Linked DNA regions of Homo sapiens: region 2 is linked to region 1. Evidence: promoter capture Hi-C in 16 types of primary human blood cells and fetal thymus (Javierre and others, 2016). All regions are on one chromosome and are shown on one strand. Each heading gives the region's core, a stretch centred on a gene start or on the middle of the fragment in contact. The rest is flanking DNA. Distances are from core to core; before and after follow the strand shown. Region 1 holds the start of TMPRSS12 (transmembrane serine protease 12). Region 2 holds the start of LIMA1 (LIM domain and actin binding 1).

Region 1 (4,969 bases), core at 1,076-3,575:
AAAAAGGATGGGAACTGAGATGAAGTCATTGGATTTGGCATGGAAGTGGATCTTTAACAGCATTTGGCCACAAAAATCAGACTGCAGTTGGATTTTATGGGTCAATGGAGATGAAGCAAAGAGAGTCTCTTTTTCAAAGAGTCTAATAGTGAAGGCCAAATCTGGCATGTCTCTTGTTTTCATACAGTCCATAAAGCATGTTTTTTACATTAACAATTTTTTTAAATATAGAGACAGGGTCTCGCTATATTTCCCAGGCTGGTCTCAAACTCCTGGCCTCAAGTGATCCTCCCGTCTTGGCTTCCCAAAGCATTGGGATAACAAATATGAGCCAACATGCCCTACTCTACATTTTTAAATGGCTGAATCAACCACAATATTTCATGACACGTTAAACATATGAAATTCAGATTTCAGTGTTCATAAAGTTTTATTGGATTATAGCCACACTCATTCAATTACTTATTTTCAGTGCTGGTTTTCATGCAATTGTGAGAGAGACCATATGACCTTCAAAGTGTAAAATATTTACTACCTTTATAGGAAGTTTACCAGCCTCTAATTTAAAAGATCCATGATCGAGCATGGTGGCTTACACCTGTAATCCCAGAACTTTGGGAGGCTGAGGCGGGCAGATCACGTGAGGTTAAGAGTTCAAGACCAGCCTGGCCAACATGGTGAAACCCCCTTTTCTACTAAAAATACAAAAATTAGCTGGACATGATGGCAGGCATCTGTAATTCCAGCTACTCCGGGGGCTGAGGCAGAAGAATCGCATGAACCCAGGAGGCGGAGGTTGCAGTGAGCCAAGATTGCACCACTGCACTCCAGCCTGGGTAACAGAGTGACACTCCATTTCAAAAAAAAAAAAGTAAAAAATAAAGGATTCCTGGGTAGGGGGCTAGGGGAGGGATAGCATTAAGAGAAATACCTAATGTAGTTAGATGATGGGTTGATGGGTGCAGCAAACCACCATGGACATGTATACCTATGTAACAAACCTGCACGTTCTGCACATGTACCCCAGAACTTAAAGTATAATAATAATAATAATAAATAAAGGATTCCTTTCAACAAATACACTGTACTATATATAAGGCATTATGGCTATTTGCAAACATAGCTTAGCTGAAAATGGCTGAAGTTAAATGGTCCTCTATCACTTCAAAATATCCCCTAAGAGCATAAAAATAGTTGTGTTCTGAATACGTACCTAGCGTCTTTAGTGCAGTGGGCAGCTGTGAGGACCCACCTCTCTCTCACTAGGGTTCCCCCACATACATGAACAAGAACACGGCCATATTTAATCTGCAGGCTCACCACCCACGGCCATGCGCCAGCTTGTGCTTCGGTGCCCCCTATAATCCGAGACCCTTGCAACACATCCTTAAGCGGTGCTGTTCCACAATCTAAAAATAAAAATGATATATTATTTGGACTGAGCATCTATAGTATGTGTTACTTCCTAAGCTGAACATATTAATGCAATCCTTTAAATTCCTATGTTAAAAACACAAAGCAAGCTAACATACCGGAGACACGCCCATATTTTGAAAGAAACTTGGAGAGTTAAGACAAATATGCCATAATCGATTACTTACAAATAGACATGAAGTCAACACAATTCATTAATTTTAAAACTCTATTCCCCAAAAATATAAAAATAAAAATTTTTGGCCACGTATCACATTCTTCCCTGTGTGAAATAGCAGTTAAAGAGCCTGGGAACGGTGAGTCGAGAGCCGCAAATTCTAATGCTCACCATTTCACTTGTTGGGCTAATTTTTCTCAACTATAGTATGAAATGGTCACCTAATAGCCCTCCCTTTCAACTCTTTATCCCCTGACTTATTAATCTATAAAATGGGGATGATAAAACCCAGAATGTTTTGAGGAGAAAATACAGATTCACAATACAAATGTGTCATTTCACTATTACAACTACTGTTATTACAGCCGGTCTAGAAACTGCTTAGGTATGTAAAATTTTGGTTAAAGGCCATTGGGACAACAGAAAAGGAGAAACCCGAATTCAAAGACTATAGCGGTGGGGAAAAGGTAAGAGAGGCTCCCCAGAGACAGGCACGAACAGGTACTGCCCTCTGCATGCGCCCCTCCCTCCCTCCGCCGCCGGAGCCTCTTGCGGACGGCCTCAGCCTGCTGGGAACTAGCCGCCGGTTCCGGCGAGGGGCCGAGCCTGTGCCTTCCAGAGGGCGAGTAGTGGTCTGAGTATAAGTGAGAGCTCCCCACAAACAACAGCGCCACGCTCAGGAGCCCCAGCCGCATTTTGGAGGCTGGTGAGCAAGATGGCGGCAGGTACTTCCCACCCGCCCTGGGCACGCGGGGCGCACGGCCTGGCGGGGAGGCGCGAGTGAGGCCCGGAGGTGTGGGAGGCGGCCGAGGAATAGGTAGGTCAGTTTAGAAAGAACCCCTCACCCTCAAGGTCTGATCGGCTTCCTCATCCACCACTATCCCCCAGGTGATGTCTGATCACCCTGGCCTGTCCAGCAAGAATCCTGTTAGGTCGGTTAGCCGGAATGCCATTACTCCTGATGCTACCTCTTAGTAATTTTCCATCCACTGACACGTCTCTCCTGCTCCGTGGCTGTAAATTCTCCCTTGGCTCTGCTCTGTTTGGATTTTAGCCCAGTCCCTCTACCCATTACAAAATCCCATTGCCATGGTCCCTATCCCTATCTGGATGGTCCTGAATAAAGTCTGCCTTGCTGTGCTTTAATGAGTATCACTGAATAATTTTTCTTTAACATAACCCAGAGTTTTTAAGAGTGATACCTAATGTTCAGTTTTAAATTGTTCTGTCATTCCTATCTTGACCTATACTGAACTTTGCCTTTGTTAACCCAACACCTTCAGTAATAAGAAGACCGTGTGGGCTGTGGGAAGTTGGTGAGGTGGTGGAGAGTTAACGTAGAGGTCAATAAAAGGACAGTTGCCTTGCTCATACCATCCTTCCGAGGCTGGTGCAGTTGGCAGCATTAGATAAAAGGAGTATATGAGTTTGGGGCTTACACATGGTAACATGTGGGGAAGGGAGCAGAGTCTCAGAGCTGTGCCGAAATTGGGGTGGAGGAGGTGATATTGGAGAAACAAATTGCAGCATGAGCTGATCTCTGAGGGCTGACAAGAAACAAAGTCCTTATTCCCCAGATATTTTAGTGGAAGGTGATATTAGGAGGAGAAAAACACAGTTGGGGTGTGTGTATTTCTGTGTGTGTGAGATGTGGTCAGATTGTGTATGCCTTTGTAAACAAGGCAAGATGACTTTTTTTTTCTTTTTTTAAACCCATAGCCAACGTGATAAGGATGACGGGTCTTGCTATGACAGATAGTAGAGGTTTAACATACTCATAAAGCAAGTATATGCAGCCAAGTCATCAAATAGCAGTGACACAGGCAGTGGGCTGGGCACGGTGGCACATGCCTGTAGTTCTATTATACAGCACTGCTTTAAACAATATATTTTTTAGTTTTACTACTCAGGAGGCTGAGGCAGGAGGATTGCTTGAGCCCAGGAGTTCTGGACTGTAGTATGCTATGTCAACTGGTCAACTAAGTTTGGCATCAATATGGTGACCTTCGGGTAGTGGGGAACCACCAGGTTGCCTAAGGAGGGGTAACTGGCCCAGACTGGAAATGGAGTTGATCAAAATTCCTGTGTTGATTGGTAGTGAGATCATGCCTGTGAATAGCCACAGTACTCCAGCCTGGGCAACAAAGCAAGACCCCATCTCTCCAAATAAAATGAAAAAGGCAGTGGATCAATAACTGCAGAGGTCTTCTTCCTGGATTTCCTCTGCCTTTTCTCCTCTCCTGCATTGTCATTTCCTGTCTTTGGTGGGATCACTCCTATCTGCAGACAAATATCCTCTGGTATGGTAGGTAGCCTACAAAATGCCCGCCAATGAACCCTGTCTCCTGGTATTCACAGCCTTAGTCAGTTCCCTCTCCTTTAGTGTTGGCTGGATTTCGTGACTCACTTCTAGTAAATAGAAAGTAGAGGTGATGGGCTACCACTTTCAAGATTAGGTTATAAAAAGATTGTGACTTCTGTCCTGAGCACTCTCTGCAGTCCTGTTGCTCTAAGGTAAAGCTGCTGCCATGTTGTAAGCTGCCCTGTGGCCCTGTAGAGAGGCTGCCAGCAAGAGCCATTGAGGAACTGAAGTCCTCAGTTGAACAGCCACGAAAAGCTGAATCATGCAACACCGCATGATCTGCTTAGAGGCAGATCTTCCCCGATCACACCTTCAGATGAGACCACAGTGCTGGCTGACACCCTAACTGCAACCTCATGAGAGACCTTAAGTCAGAGACACCCAGCCAAACTACACTTAAAAGTTCTGACCCACAGAAAATACGAGATAAATTTTTGTTGTTCTAAGCTACTGCATTTTGGGATAATTTGTTACGCAGCAACAGATAATACATCTGGTTTCTCCCACCTTAGAAAAATCTTCAATTGACTTTATATCCCCTACTTTCCTCTATAGCAAAATTTCACCCAAGAAGTTGTTTACAATTACAGTTTCTACTTTCCACTTCCTCAACTTTTTTTCTTTTAGTAGAGACAAGGTCTACATTGCCCAGGCTGGTTTCAAACTCCTGGCCTGAAGAAATCCATCCACCTCAGCCTCCCAAAGTGTTGGGATTACAGGTGTGAGCCACCGCACCCAGCCTACTTCTTCACCTTTTATTCCCATCTTTGTTTTTTAAAAATTTTGTTGGTTTTTGTTAATTTTTAAGAATAGAAGCAGGACTTTATTTCTCCTCTCAGAAAAAGAGACCTTGTCCACAGAAGCTCTCTTAGCTTAACCAACTTCATCCCATTACATTTTTTGTTTCTTTGTTTTGAGTCTCACTCTGTCACTGAGGCTGCAGTAGTGCAGTGGCATGATCTCAGCTCACTGTAATGTCTGCCTCCCAGGCTCAAGTGATTCTCCTGCCTCAGCCT
Region 2 (5,048 bases), core at 113-2,612, 560 kb after region 1:
CACTGCAATCTCCACTTCCCGGGTTCAAGTCATTCTCGTGCCTCAGCCTCCCGAGTAGCTGGGATTACAGGCACTTACCACCACGTCCGGCTAATTTTTGTATTTTTAGTGGAGACGGTGCTTCGCCATGTTGGCTAGGCTGGTCTCGAACTCCTAACCTCAGGGGATCCGCCTGCCTCAGCCTCCCAAAGTGCTGGGATTACAGGTGTGAGCCACCGCGCCCGGCCCCTTGTACCTGATTTTGAATGGAGTTTCAACCAATCACAAACAGACAACCAGCCAAGTGGTTATATAATTAGGGACCTCCCATGTGACCATACCCAAATAAGGCAAACGCTTAGCTGTAGCCAATCAAATTTCTTTACTTTCGTGTTCAGCCTATAAAGTTTGATGCCTGGGCAGCTAGAGCAGGGGTGTCTGAGCCTCTTTTGGTTCTGACTGTTGTCCGATTCAAAATCTAAGTTTGTTTTGTCTGAAATTTTTATTTCTACAATACCTATCCAGAAATCAGTCTAGGCTGGATATTTGAAGGAAGAAGGGAATAACTGGCTGGCATATTCATCACCTGTTGGAAATCTCTCTTCTCACACATTTTCATTAACTTCTTGAGGAAGTGTAATTACAAGCGTTTTCCCACGAGCAGCCCCTACTAATAACGCATCAAGCTGCATGAATTCCGAAAAGCTTCAGAAAACTTGTGGTCTGAAACCCTACTATGCTTGAGGTACAGGAAAGAAGGATACTATCAAAAGGCATCATGCAGCTGGCACGGAACTGGGACAAGAATTTGGGGGCAGGATGGCCAAGTGCTAGGCCAATTGACGGTCTCCAAACCATTAGCACAGCTCCTATTCTGAATGGAGGAGTAAAAACAGCTGTTGGAGAACTTGGACGTCATCTGCCCTTGTCAAACCGTTTTCAGGATTAATGTACTTAATTCAGCTTTTTCCACTACACCACACAGCCTCCTGTAAAACACCCTCCCTGCACACAACTTACCCCCAAAGCACCAGGAACCTAGCTGGCTAGAGTTGAGCTTAGGAAAAACCTGAGTGGCTCCAGAGTCAAACTGCGATAACGTTGAGTCAGAGGAGTTAAGGACAAAGTAGAGCTGCACAGAGGCCCACGTCGTGCAAGTGCGTGTCTCCTTCAGAGAAAAGCGTGCCGAGGTAGACTAGGCCCCGGGCAGCAAAAACCCTGTCCCGTCGCCAGCGCCCCGCACCGCCAGAGCGACTGGAGCAGACGCGAGCGCTGGGCACGTAGCCGGTGGCGCGCACGCTCAGCCCGAGGCCGCACGGGAGGCTGTCTGGCGTGCGCGCCCCCGCGGCGGTGGGCGGGGTCCGGGGCGGGGCCGCAGGAGCAGTAGGTGTTAGCAGCTTGGTCGCGACAGGTGCGCTAGGTAGAGCGCCGGGACCTGTGACAGGGCTGGTAGCAGCGCAGAGGAAAGGCGGCTTTTAGCCAGGTAAGGGCCTTCTCTCTCCACAACCGGAGAGTGCGGGAAGACCCCGGCTTCTCTCCACACCCTCTTTCTCCTTCGACTTTTGGGGCGGGGGGAGTGCAAGGAGTGTGAGTCCCTCCCCCTCGAGATAAGGGGTCGAGGGACGCTGATCCTCCGTTCTTTCCTCACTTCTGGGGCCTGCGCTGGGTGGGGAGTGCTTATGTCGGGCTGAGCCTTTGCTGCCCAAGGGCGGGAGCTGCAAATACCCCGTCCTCTCCCACCGAGAACACTGCATTCTAACTGTATACTTTCTGGTGTGGTGGAGGAAGGTGACAATTCATTAAAACTCCAAATACCCTCCTTCCAGGGAAATACTGTAATATTCAACTGTTCTTTTTCCTTCATTTTCAGCCATTCCCTCTCTTTTCGATTTTTTCTCCCTTCCATTACGCCAGCTGAACTCTGTTTAAGACACTTACACCCTTTTGAGGAATGTTGAGAATATAGCAGTCCTTGCAGCCGATGTGTCATCCCCGAATCGCTATCGTGTATATATCGCTGGCACTTGCCCCCGACATATGTTGGTGTTAATGTAAGGTAATTGTACACCCCTGGCTACACATACTAAAGCTTGAAGTTGTAGCTGCTAGGAACGAACCATCTGGCACCCTTCCTAGCCTCCTTACTGATGCTTGCAAGAACGGTTTAGCTGATCCTGGTGAGAGATATTTGAACTACTATTGTCTTGCACCTAATTCCAGCTTTCAAAAGTCTGCCTTGGACGGGCGCAGTGGCTCACGCCTATAATCCCAACACTTTGGGAAACTGAGGCGGGAGGATCGCTTGAGCCCAGGTGTTTGAGACCAGCCAAGGCAACTTAGCGAGACCCTTGTCTCTACAAAAAAATAAATAAATAAATAAAAATAAAAGATAAGTCTGCCTAATCCAGATCTGCCTAATCCAGATGGTTCAATTGACTTGACTTTTCAGGTTAGTCAAAGGTAATTAGGGAGTTATCAGTTTTTAAGGCAATGCCCATTTTGGGGAGAGGTTTTCTTTTGCATTAAGTATTCTTTCTTTTGCTCTTGATTTAAATGGTTTAACACAGTACCTTTTATCTGCTTGGTTACCAATACTATTCACAAATGCTAAATATTTCAGGAGCCATGAAATAACACCAATCCTTTCTTCTGAGGTATGATGTAGACACAAAAGAACATGACCCCTAACAACATGTTCTAAGTTCCTGTAGAGGTATAACCTGGGTGCAGGATGATCACGTTTTAGATAGATCTTCAAAAAATTATAGAGTTGGCGTGAAAGAAGGCAAAAAAAAGTGTGTGTTCATATATGTTTTCTTGTTTTGCATTGATAGAACAACATATAATGTACTAGGTAATTAGTTTAGGAACTTATTTCATTCTTTGGACAAAATATTGAGTGCCTTTCATGTCAGTCCTACTGTAGATTCAAAGTGCCAAACGTCTTTACCCTAAAAGAACTTAAAATCAAATGGGTTAGACAGATCCACATACAATTTATGGTATTAGTGAGGTCATTTCTATACTAGAGGTCAGCCCAGGGTACTGTAGGAGCATAGGGAATATAGGTGTTTTGTTTTGTTTTTTAATTCTCTCTTCTGCTTTTCCTTAAAAACAAAAACCTCTGAGTAATAATGAGTGATTCTCTTCAATCTATGTATTTGTATCACTTTCATATTTCTTACCCTCTCTTCCTCCAATTCTATGGCCTATGGAAAATGGGATTAGACCCTGTTGTTAATGTGGCATTTAGTAAATAGTTGGATCTGTTTCCACTGTTCTGTATTGGGCTGGGAAGTGTTGTTATCAGGTAGTCCCTGGGAAGAGAACAGTATATTGGCAACATTAGCAAAGGAGTGCCATTTTGTAAAAATTACCTCATTGTATAACTTTCTTTAACTTGGTACACTCAAGCTTTGTTCCAGACTCTGGTTAAAGGTGGGGCTAAATTTCAACCTAATAATTCTAAAAGAAAGCTTCAGAAGCTAAAACAATTCACATCTTGGTGACAGGGGATACTTTTTCCTGCTAAGATGCCCTCAAAATGTTTTTCTCTTTCTTTTTTTCTTGGGTGGGGAAGACAGGGTAGATAGGTGGGTGGGGAAAAATGTTTTTAAGTATAATTTTGACTAGTGTTTCTTCAGGTTTCAAATTCTTATATTTTCTCTGGTATTTTTCACCAGTTAACTGCAATTAACTTAGAGCCCTCGTACCAAAAAAATTTATCAAAGACACACACACAGACACAAAAGAATATTGAGAGTGTGGGAGTTCATTAGACATCTTTGGCATAATAGGGCACCTAACCACAAATTGGAAGAATTTATTATTTAAATTGACAGTGAAACTAGTTTCAGGCATTCTTAATTCCATACACTATTAGATAGATGACTTTTAGATTAGAATTGTACCCTTTCTGCAGATAGGAAAATGTATAACGAGTCCTAAGTTAGTAATTTCCATTAGAAAAGGCAATTGTTTTTTAAGTTTGCTATTGTCTTTCACTGTATGTTTTTTGATAGAAACTTAAGGTACTTCATTTTAGATTGCATACAGTAATCTCCAGGTGAGGTTACTTAACACAGCCTCTTCAGGTTACTAACAAACCAGTGGTTGTAAATGAAGTAGTTTCTACTTAATGATTATGGAGTTGAGAGTCTATGGTGGATGATAAGGTAGGACCATACTGATGAGTTTATTCTGAAGCTGGGTGCAGAGTCCTCAAGACTCAGTCAAATTATTGTGCTACTGAAGACCTCTTTTCATAAAAAGGATGGAGTTTGACCTAACAAGCAATCCATTATTCAGCATGTCAGATGATTTCTTGACACGTGAAAACTTTCTAGAGACTTCCTGTGTCCACTCATAAGAAGTTAACATGATACCATGAAAATTTTACATTCTTTTGATGTTCTTTTAAATAATTTCTTAATACTACTACCCTGGGCCGGGCGCGGTGGCTCACGCCTGTAATCCCAGCACTTTGGGAGGCCGAGGCGGGAGGATCACGAGGTCAGGAGATCGAGACCATCCTAGCTAACATGGTGAAACCCAGTCTCTACTAAAAATACAAAAACAAAATTAGCCGGGCGTGGTGGCAGGCGCCTGTAGTCCTAGCTACTCGGGAGGCTGAGGCGGGAGAATGGCGTGAACCCGGGAGGCGGAGCTTGCAGTGAGCGGAGATCGCGCCACTGCACTCCAGCCTGCGTGACAGAGTGAGACTCCGTCTCAAAAAAAAAAAAAAAAAAAAAAAAAAAATACTACTACCCTGAAACTAAGAACTTTCATCTTTAGGGGAAAAAAAGATGCAACTTTTTTGTACTTCTGATAACAAGTGTGGATCTATTTTCCCCCTTAATTATTCTGTAACAGAGTTTATGATATGGAAAACTTTACAGTCCTTCAAATATGTTTTGTCTTGCACAAAGTATTGCCATTTTTGTTTCATTACCCATAAATTAGTCCCAATATCCGCTTTACTTAGTTTTAGATTTCCACAATCTTTTTTTTCTCCATAAACTGAAATTCAAGCTAATGCCCCGGGACTTCTTTTATTTCATAGTCAGTTT

What was found. Contacts are between HindIII fragments. The CHiCAGO score rates a contact against its expected background, and 5 or more counts as called.
Region 2: the fragment with the promoter of LIMA1 here is called in contact with the fragment with the promoter of TMPRSS12 in region 1 in 4 of 17 cell types (M2 macrophages, neutrophils, erythroblasts and 1 more); the score reaches 7.5 in M2 macrophages.

Annotation. Positions count from the first base shown.
Region 1 is chr12:50,840,282-50,845,250 of GRCh38, reverse strand. It overlaps TMPRSS12 (transmembrane serine protease 12), which reads right to left and starts at 2,325. Exons shown (of 5, transcript NM_182559.3): 1 at 2,100-2,325; 2 at 1,214-1,409. The coding sequence starts at 2,286. It also overlaps the pseudogene RN7SL519P. The HindIII fragment of the contact is 6,106 bases long and covers 1-4,969 here.
Region 2 is chr12:50,279,834-50,284,881 of GRCh38, reverse strand. It overlaps LIMA1 (LIM domain and actin binding 1), which reads left to right and starts at 1,362. Exons shown (of 11, transcript NM_016357.5): 1 at 1,362-1,462. LOC107984505 (a long non-coding RNA gene) reads right to left here and starts at 1,261. Exons shown (of 2, transcript XR_001749144.2): 1 at 1,000-1,261. RefSeq lists a silencer at 1,142-1,451. The HindIII fragment of the contact is 1,384 bases long and covers 687-2,070 here.